Regions from separate parts of the Homo sapiens genome. Here region 2 is linked to region 1. The links are contacts of gene promoters, found by promoter capture Hi-C in human tissues and cell types (Jung and others, 2019). All regions are on one chromosome and are shown on one strand. The core of a region is centred on a gene start or on the middle of the fragment in contact, and the rest is flanking DNA. Distances in the headings are between cores, read along the strand shown. Region 1 holds the start of DOK4 (docking protein 4). Region 2 overlaps RSPRY1 (ring finger and SPRY domain containing 1).

Region 1 (5,522 bases), core at 1-2,500:
CTTGGCCATGGGCCTGGGGCTGGTTAGCTCAGGCTGATCACAGACACCACAATGACCATCAGGGAAATTTTCAGACATCCAGAGGCAGCCTCCTTTTAAGCTCCCTGGGCAAGGCTGAGGCCCAGGCGTCTCCGGGGCAGGGGCATGCATTCCATGGGTGGGTGTTGGGATCCTTGGTCCCTCACTGCTTTAGGCCTATTCCTCTGAGACACCTGGACAGTAGCTGGATGTGGAGGTATTTTCATTTCTCAGGATTTTGGCTGTTCAGGTGGCCTATTGTTTTGTTTTGTATATATGGTCTAAAGCAGTGGTTCTCACACATTCGTGTGCATCAGAATCACCTGGCCTGTTAAAACACACATTTCTGCTGGAAACCCCCAAAAATTCTGATTTCATAGGTCTGAGTAGGGCAGGGAATTTGCATTTCTAACAAGTTTCAAGGTGATGGGAAGCTTCTGGTCCAGGGACTACACTTTGAGAAGCCCTGGTGTAAAAAGGTACAGACGTGAAAACCAGAGGGGGGACAGCTCCTCCCCAGAGGAGGCACTGGGCAACTTCTCTTGTCCCTGCCTGGCACAGCTGAGGCCTGTGACTGGGGATTCCGACAGATCAGTGAGTCAACCACTGCACAGGCCCGAAGGGCAGAGGTGAGGGGGTTGGGGGCTGGGTGGGGGCAGCAATGAAGGGGAATGAAGTTTGAGCTTGAGGGCAAAGTCTCAGGGGGACCTAGAATGGGAGAACTGGATGTTTTGAGGGTGGAGAGGAGACCAGGGAAGACAGAGGTGCTGGTGCGGCTACTTGAGGAGGGGTAGCAGAGGAGGTCACTGTGGGGCTGGGAGAGCTGGGCTGTGAGGGCCCAGAGAGTCATGATGGGGTTAGGGGAGCAATGGGTGTGTATGTGATTCCTGAAGAAGTGAAGGAATTGAGATATGGGGGCTGGGAGCTGATGTGGCGTATGGGTGTGTATGTGATTCCTGAAGAAGTGAAGGGGTTGAGATGTGGGGGCTGGGAGCTGATGTGGAGTTCAGCTTTCAGGGGCTGAGAGGCCATGTGGGCTTTGGGGCCCAGGGAGGGGCGGTGGGAATGAGCTGGGGGTACCGGGGGCGACCTGAAGCGGGTGCGGGGGTGCCAGGGCGCCAGGGCAGAATCGCGCGTCCCGCGGCTCGGAGGAATACGGCGGGGGCCGGCCGCCAGGGCGGGGCAGGGGGCGGGGCGCAGCGGCGAGACCTGGCGGAGGGGGGAGCGGAGCGGAGTCCCAGCCGGAGCCCCAGCCGGAGCCCGATCCCTAGCCCTGCGGCCGCGCCTCCCTCGCCGTCCCCGCCTGGAGCCCGGCGCCGCCGCCGCCCTGCCGCCCCCGCCAGCCGCGCCGTGACGCGGGCATGAGCCTGCTCCGCGGCGCCGCTGAGCAGGCGCTCCTGGCCCGGGCCTCGGCGCCCAGGTAAATTGGGGGGCGTGAGGCAGGGAGGGGGACATAGGCCGCCCAGAGCCTGCAAGAGTCTCGGCGACTCCCACCCCTGAGGACCCTCAGTCACTTCCTGAACCTGAGGACGCTCCGTCCCATGGGACCTTCCTACTCTCGGGTGGGGAGCTTAGAGACCCGCCCCCCAAAAGCCAGTGCCTGGGCCCTGAAACTCCCTGCGCTCTCTCCACCCGCAGCTTTCCTCTCCGGGGGAGCCCAGGTCGCGAGCTGACCTCACCCGCACCCACACAAACCTCATCCGAGCAACCCAGGCCCTGCGCTCCCGGGCCTGCCCCCCCGGAAGGGGCATAACCCAGCCCCTGGCAGCTCCCAACCTTCTCTCTGCCTTCCTGCTCCTCCCCGGGGCCTCCTGTTCGCTCACCTCCTCCAAATTCCAAGAGATGATTTTCTGTACCCCAGCTGGCCCCCACTGCCGACCCCCTCCTGCCTATGGGGTTTCTCCCCACAGCCCAAACTCATGGCCAGCTGCCTCCTGTCCTTGAACCTTTCTCCATTGGCCCCCAAGGTCCTGTCCACCTTCTCCCCCAGGGCCCGCAAGGCCCTAGATCCAGTTACATGCTTTCTATTACTGAAAAGGGGCATGAGCCGAGGCTGGGCACCTGGGTGATGTGGCAGAGCAGGGGCTCTGTGCAGCCTGCCTGCCCCAAGCCATGGGGACACGTCAGTTGCTGGGGCGCTTCCGCTTGGATGGAGGGTGTGGGTTGGAGGGGTCTGATGGCCAGGGCAGCGAGGGGCCTGGCAGTATCTCTAGGAGACTCCACTTGGGCAGTGTGAGGTGGGCTTGCTTAGGGCAGGTTCTTTCCTGGACCCTTTCAGAGGGATGTGGCGCTGGTACAGGCTCTTCCTGCCCCCACCCCCAACTCTGATCCCAGGAGCTGTGCCTCCTCTCCCCAGTTGCTTGCCTTGCTGTGCTGGTACTGGTTACTCCCAGCACTTCCCTCCTGGGCAGGGCAGCAGGGCTGGGCATGACCTCACCCCACAACCCTGGCCAAGGTGGGGCCGCCCAACTAGGCCTGGCCTCGATGTCAGCAGCATGCTCTTCCCTGAGGCAGCTCTGAACCAAACTGCGGGTCTTGGGCACAGCTGGTTCTCCAGTAACAACAGCCTGCTGGCCATGCCAGTCAGCGCTGAGACCCAGGAGCTGGGAGCCCACTGTGGCTCACGCACCTCTGGAAGCTGAGCCAGGTCCAGCCAGATGGAGGCTGGTGGTGGTGGAAGAAAGGATGGGGAGGAGGACAAGTCCTGGAGAGAATTACGTGTTCAGCCCCCAAATATTGAGCATCTCCTTCCCACCGGGCACCATTCTGGGAGCTGGGATAGAGCTGTTAACTAGACAGACGAGGCCGAGCCACCAGGGAGCTGACATTCCAGATGTCTCTCTGTGGCCAGAAACAAATGGACAGATGTAAGAACAAGAAAATCCCATGGTGATGTGCGATGAAGACAGCCGCATCTGATGTTGTGAGAGAGGCTGACTAGTGGGGGTCCTTTGGTGAGGGTAGTCAGGGAAGGCCTCCTGGAGGAGGTGGATGAAGCAATGGAATGAACCATGAGCATGTGAGGGAACAATGTTGTAGGTGGGAAACAGCTAGTGCAGTGGTCCCTCGAGGGAGGGGTTTTGGCATGTTGAGGGGTGGGCAGGGGACCCAGGAGAACCAGAGTGGTACGGGGCCACAGCATTACTCTCCTGGCTTAAGGGTCTGGGGGACCATGGCTGTTCAGATGTCCCCTCCTTCTGCCGTCCCTGTCTGCCTAGATGGGTATTTGGTCTGTCTTTGCCATCCACCTTGATGGGACTCACCATGTTTTGGCCGGTGGCCCCTATGGGGATCTGTTGGGAGCACTCCCAGCCGGCCTCTGACAACAATCTTGGGGTGGGGTGGGGGCAGAGCAGCAGGTGATGGGAAATGGCTCTGGTGCTGGAGAGAATCCCACAGATCCAATCTTCGCCGTTGGATCGAGACAGCCAGACGACACTGAGATGGTGTCCAGGTAGGGCTGTTCCTGCAGCCCTGATAAGATCCGATCTGTCAGGGGTGGGGAGGCCCAGCCAGGCAGGCAGCCGCTCGCTCAGTCATTGGTTGCCAGCCTCAGCGCGTTTGTTCTGGAGCCAAAGCCTCCAGGCAGAATCCATGTGCGAGAGGGAGTGCTCAGCATGGCTGCCCTGTGGGGCAGGTGGGCAGTGAGGGCCCTGGGAGTCTCCCTACTCCCCGCCACCCCAGGACACCAGCCCTTCCTGGGGAGAGGAGCATTTTGGAGCTGGCTCTCCCTGCGCGGAAACCTGTGGTGGCCTGGCACCAGGCAGGTACTGTCCCTGGGTAAGCAGCAGTATTGGTACCAGGCTGGGAGGTGGGATGCGGGGGGCCCTTGCTCCCCTCCTCCCTCACTGGAACCCTGAGAGCGACTGCTGGACACCGTGCTTAGCTGGGAGCTCGGAGCTCACAGTGCTGGGGAAGGACCCAAGACCTCAGGTCCTCTCAAAGTAGCAAGCATTCTTCCTGCTGCAGGCCTGTTGGGGACAAGGGCCTGAGGGACAAACAGGGCAGGGGCTACTTCAACCCAATTCCTGGCCTGCCTAGCCTCAGCTGCCCTCCAATTTTTGTATTTTTTTAATTGATTTTTTTGAAATTTTTTAGAAACAGTCTCACTCTATCACCCAGGCTGGAGTGCAGTGGCTTGATCATAGCTCACTGCTACCTGGAATTCCTGAGCTCAAGTGATCCTCCCACCTCGGCCTCCCCAGTAGCTGTGACTACAGGCACGTGCCACATGCCCAGCTTATTTTTTCATTTTTTGTAGAGACGGGGTCTCTCTATGTTGCCGGATCTGGTCTTGAACTCCTGGCCCCAAGTGATCCTCCCACTTTGGCCTCCCAAAGTGTTGGGATTACAGGTGTGAGCCACTGTGCCTGGTCTGCTCTCCACTTCTTGCTGTCCTATTGGGCCTTCACAGGCTCAGCTTGGGGGCCGCCTCGCTTGCTTAACACAGTGCATTCCTTCTGGAGGATGGTGGGTTGGTTCTGGGCCCCCCCCTCACCACTTGACCCCACTGCCTGTCAAATTTGTGGGTCCACCTATTGGCCCTGACCTTTCCCTCCCCTTCCGAACCCCTCTTTGCCCACCATTTTGGGTCCTAGGTTAGGTCTTGCTCTTGCAAACATCATTAGGGACTAAGTGTGGCCAGGGGTCCCTGTGACTCAGGGCCGGAGTGAGCTGGCAGGACTTTGGCACCCAGCCTTCCCCGTGAAGGTCACTCTTCCCGCTGGGGACCTGGGGTATGGGACGGGGTGGGGCCTATGGACAGACGCAGCAGGAGCACTCCTGCGAGCTTGGGGCCACAGTCCCTGGTGGGGCAACACTGGGAAGGAGCAGGCTGGCTTCTGGTGGTTTCACCGCCCTGTCTGGGCAGCAACTCTTGAAGAAAACTATATATATATACATACACACAGCCCTTGGAGTTTTCAAGGCAGAAGCTCTGGCCAGGCGCAGTTGCTCACACCTGTAATCTCAGCACTCAGGGAGGCCGAGCCTTGTGGATCACTTGACCCCAGGAGTTCAAGACCAGCCTGGGCAACATGGTGAAAACCCATCTCTAGGGGCCGGGCGCAGTGGCTCACGCCTGTAATCCCAGAACGTTGGAAGGCCGAGGCGGGTGGATCACAAGGTCAGGAGATCGAGACCATCCTGGCTAACACGGTGAAACCCCGTCTTTACTAAAAATATGAAACAATTAGCCGGGTATGGTGGTGGGCTCCTGTAGTCCCAGCTACTCGGGAGGCTGAGGAAGGAGAATGGCGTGAACCCGGGAGGCGGAGCTTGCAATGAGCCGAGATTGGGCCACTGCACTCCAGCCTGGGCAATAGAGTGAGACTCCGTCTCAAAAAAAAAAAAAAAAAAAAACAAAAGCCCCATCTCTACAAACAAGTTTTTAAAAATTAGCTGGGCATGGTGGTATGTACCTGCGGTCCCAGCTATTCAGGAGGCTGAGGTGGGTGGATCACTTGAGCCTGGGTGGTTGAGGCTGCCGTAAGCCGTGATGGCAC
Region 2 (4,786 bases), core at 1,008-3,507, 260 kb after region 1:
AATCAAATCCTTCCAGAGGTTATATCCTCTACCATATGACCCTACTTCCTTAGAGCGTGGCCACTGGATAGGACCTGTTCCATAGCCATCTTGTCCCTGAAAAATCCTCATTTTAGTGGCATTACAATTCCAGTGTCCCTGATATTGCCATGGCTGCTTTAATTCAAAACAGATCCAAAGAGGAAAATAGAATTCATACTAATCTTGAGTATCATTTTCTGACAAATGTAAAAAATTTATTTTCTGAAATGTTTTTGCTACAGGAAGAACTCCACCAGAGGTAAATTTATCAGAGGAATACCATTTATATCCTTGGCAGTGACACAAAAGTTAATATCCCTTTTCACATTTGATCTTCTCCTAAGACATTTTAAGGCTTAATGTAATAAATGCCTCATAATAACCAGATGTCTTAACCCACTTGATAAATTTATAATGGAGGGAATGAATACCTTCTTTCCAGCATGGGTGTATGTGAGGCTTACTTCTGGCATTGTACCAAATCAGCTGCCGGCAGCCATCATACGCACAGGAGTATTCATCATCCCCAATGCCGTAGCCTTCCTGGAGAGAGACAAGGCCCAGAAGATTAGCAAGTCTGCCTGCTCTGACCTGGGAACAGAGAGTGTGTCTTTTACGACCACTGACCTAATGGCTGGGATTCTAAGCTTTCTGGATGATGAGAGAGCTCATGGTTTTTTGAAAATACTAAAATTATGACTTAGAGGGCTGGTTCCAAGTGAATAGATAATGACTTCACCAACAAATATTTTCCCAGTGCCTCCTTTGTTCAGGCACTTTCACATTTGTTAGTTCATTTAATTCTCACTAACATTATCATGAGGCTGGTGGCATCAGACTCCATTTTAAGAGGAAACAAAGGCTCAAAGAGGTCAACCAGCTTGCCCAAGCATATATTACTTGCCCAAGAAACAGAGCCAGGTTTGAACCTAAATTCTTCTGATTCCAAGATCAGTCAGTACACTTGTATATCAGCACAAGATTGTCAGAGGCATTCAAACCAGAGAGACTCCATCTTGAATAGGGGCAGGGTAAAATGAGGCTTAGACTTGCTGGGCTGCTCAGCTGCATTCCCAAGAGGTTAGGCATTCTTAGTCACAGGATGAGACAGGAGGTCAGCACAAGATACAGGTCACAAAGACCCTGCTGATAAAACAGGATGCAATAAAGAAGCCAGCCAGAAGCTGGCCAAAACCCACCAAAACCAAGATGGCAACAAAAGTGACCTCTGGTCATCTTCACTGTTCATTATATGCTAATTATAATGCATTAGCATGCTAAAAGACACTCTAACAGGTGCCATGACACTTTACAATGTCATGGCAGTTTGGAAGTTACCCTATATAGTCTAAAAAGGAGAGGAACCCTTGGTTCCAGGAATTGCCTGTCCCTTTCCCAGAAAACTCATGAATAATCCATCCCTGTTTAGCATATAATCGAGAAATAACTAAGTATACTCAGTTGAGCAGCCCACGCCACTGCTCTGCCTATAGAGTAGCCATTCTTCTGTTTCTTTAATAAACTTGTGAAAACACTTTATTCTATGGATTCGCCCCAAATTCTTTCTTGCGCGAGGTCCAAAAACCCTCTCTTGGGATCTGGATCCAGACCCTTTCCAGTAACAAGATCAGATCAGGCAAATACCTTTCTTGCATGTAGCAGACTTCAAAATACCCAAATATTCAGAGATTTCAAAACTGGAGATAAGAGAAAGGTTATAGTGGACACTCAGCTAAAAGCTATTCTGAAATCAGCTTGATTTGAGGATTGTACAGGTCCTTGGCAGTTTCTTCTTTTTTTTTCTTTGAGATGGAGTTTCACTCTTGTTGCCTAGGCTGGAGTGCAATGGCGCGATCTTGGCTCACCACAACCTCTGCCTCCCGGGTTTAAGCGATTCTCCTGCCTCAGCCTCCTGAGTAGCTGGGATTATAGGCATGCGCCACCAGGCCCAGCTAATTTTGTATTTTTAGTAGGGACGGGGTTTCTCCATGTTGGTCAGGCTGGTCTCGAACTCTAGACCTCAGGTGATCTGCCCGCCTCGGCCTCCCAAAGTGCTGGGATTACAGGCGTGAGCCACCGCGCCTGGCAGTTTCTTCTTTTTGTTACTTACTGCCTTTCAATTATTTCACAGAACTGTTAAAATAAAAGGGTGGCTGAGATCTTAAGAAATTATTTTGAGTGCTTATAAAAAATAGAAGCAGCATGCAAATCAGACAACTGCTATCTTTAAGGAACAATGGTGAAAAGTTTTACTAGAGAAAGAAATTGAAAATGGCCAAATCCAAGTAAGATCAGGTCCTGATGGCCTGCTTCTTCTATGGGGCAAACAATACAGTGAGGAGAGAGATTGGAAAAAAAGTTCTGATGAATGCAACAATGATTTTGTACTGGATTTTTGGATTACAACATACTGAATTTGGAGGAACGCTCTCCAAAGTGACTCTTCTGAAATAGCTATTGATATTCACTATTCAGACTACTCAAGAGTTAAATGAGCTTGCATCTAATTGCCTTAGAAATTCACCACCCAAGGCTGCCAAGAGCAGTGGCTCATGCCTGTAATTTCAGCACTTTGGGGGGCAGATCACTTGAGGCCAGGCATTTGAGACCAGCCTGGCCAACATGGCGAAACCCTGTCTCTACTAAAAATACAAAAATTATCCAGGTGTGGTGGCGCACACCTATAATCCCAGTTACTCTGGTGGCTGAGGCACAAGAATCGCCTGAACCTGGGAGGCAGAGGTTGCAGTGAGCAGAGATCACGTGCCACTGCACCCTGGCCTGGGTGACAGAGCGAGACTGTCTCAAAACAAAACAAAACAAAAGAAATTCACTACTTGCTAGAAAGAATGCCTTGCCACACCTTTCAAACGCTGAACAAGTCAGTAAGTAAAAAACTTAAAAACCACTAAAATGTAGGCATTGTGGCATAAGTAAAAGGCAAGCAATTCTTTTCTATCTTCACCTTCTAATGTCCTGAGAAGTCCTTGACAGAACACTTGAAAGAAATTCCTAGAAGCTAGCCACCATGAGTTGGTAAAGAGCAGACTCATTACACATTCTTTACCATGCAATGTCTTTGATGACTGGATAAGTTCCACAACAGAGTGGCACTGTAGCACAAAGAAGGAACTCTAATAACTTTAACTACAGAGCAGCATCTACAGATTTAAGGAGAAGATGCCTCTGCCTAGCAGAGATGCACTTTAAAAATCTCTTAAGCTTACATCTCAGAGAACAACCTAGATGTCCTACACCCTCTCTCAGCTCAAAATGTTCCCAGCAGGATTAATTTTGGTTTCCATTGGCTAGGACAGATAAATGAGAGAATAGAGTGGTTAGCTTGGTATTTATCTTGAACTACCTGTTTTTTGGTCATGCATATTTTAGCAATGGAAACATTACCAAATACAAACAAAAGAAAGTTTATCCACAGCTTGTCATTCAGGGAATAGTTTGAGTCTCTTTCCCACGTGGTGGACACTCTCCTTTTTCCTGCTGTAGGGCATCCCAACCGTTTCCTGTTAAGGGAAATGTATGAAGACAGTGTTCTGCCTCCTCCTTTGGAAGTGGAAAGGTAAGATATGACCTAGGCTTGGCCAGCTGGACCTTCCCATCAAACACTCAGTATGGTGCAAGTGACCCCAAACAGAGGGATAGTTAGGATGGATTTCCAGCAGCAATGGTGGCTGCATGCTGGCCAGATCGTTTCCCTAAAACACCGGCTATTGTACTTCCTGTTTCTTGGCCCTGACAGCCTTGGAGCCTGTCTAGTTCCAAAACTTCTCCATAATCTGGAGGCTCCGGAAAGGCTTCTAAATCATTCCTTTTCTGTCTGAGATAGCCAGAGTCATTTTCTCGAAGGCAGATGCTTCAACAGGGGAAGGAGCATGGGCTATCCTGGCCTGAAATCTCTAGCAGCTGGAGACTACATGGCTTTGGGGAAGTTTCTTAATTTCTCTCAACTTGATTTTCCTCATCTTTAAATGGCAGGATAATACCTTTCCAAACTCTCAAAAAGATTAAAGATAAATATGTGAAAGACCTCACAAAAGTGTCACATGACAGACACTCACAAAAAAGCAAAAGATATTTATTTATTTATTTATTTTTGAGACAGAGTCTCACTCTATCGCCCAGGCTAGAGTGCAGTGGCACTATCTGGGCTCAGTGCAACCTCTGCCTCCCATATTCCAGCAATTCTCCTGCCTCAGCCTCCCGAGTAGCTGGGATTACAGGCGCCCGCCACCACGCCCAGCTAATTTTTTATATTCAGTAGAGACGGGGTTTCACCATGTTGGCCAGTCAAACTCCTGACCTTAAGTGATCCACCCACCTCAGCCTCCCAAAGTGCTGGGATTACAGGTGTGAGCCACTGCGCCTGGCCAAAAGGCAAAAGATATTTTAGATAAATCAGAGTACACCCTTGGAGAGTTGCTCCTCCTAAGCCTCCATAAAAATATACAATACAACAAGACAAACTGTTCTGTAGGTTACCTGAACAGAACTATCCTTAAGCTTATTTTAATGACCTAACATTGAGCCCAGTGGCCAGCCTTTTAAAATGGAAACCTAAGCAGCAAGAATTCAAGTAAGAGGCACTATGCAGAGACTTAGAATCTTTTGAAACTGGGTGTATCCTAGGAATGACTTACTCCATAGAATCACACCCTGTCTGAATAGGCAAAAAGATTCAGAATCACCAGAACAATGTACATTTAAAGCAAAGTTTTAAATATGGCAACATCATTAAAATCCTGTATTT

What was found. The method cuts DNA at HindIII sites, captures the fragments that hold promoters and counts their contacts. A contact is called where the count stands out against the background at its distance.
Region 2: a fragment that was not itself captured here is called in contact with the fragment with the promoter of DOK4 in region 1 in 2 of the 25 tissues and cell types used here (lymphoblastoid cells and spleen).

The regions. Positions count from the first base shown.
Region 1 is chr16:57,482,221-57,487,742 of GRCh38, reverse strand. DOK4 (docking protein 4) reads left to right here and starts at 1,250. Exons shown (of 9, transcript NM_018110.5): 1 at 1,250-1,438. RefSeq lists a silencer at 1,070-1,369 and an enhancer at 1,201-1,997. The HindIII fragment of the contact is 12,171 bases long and covers 1-5,522 here.
Region 2 is chr16:57,223,120-57,227,905 of GRCh38, reverse strand. It overlaps RSPRY1 (ring finger and SPRY domain containing 1), which reads right to left. Exons shown (of 15, transcript NM_133368.3): 11 at 453-564. Among named protein-coding and RNA genes, the nearest start is that of ARL2BP, 20 kb to the left of the region's middle. The HindIII fragment of the contact is 5,127 bases long and covers 1-4,786 here.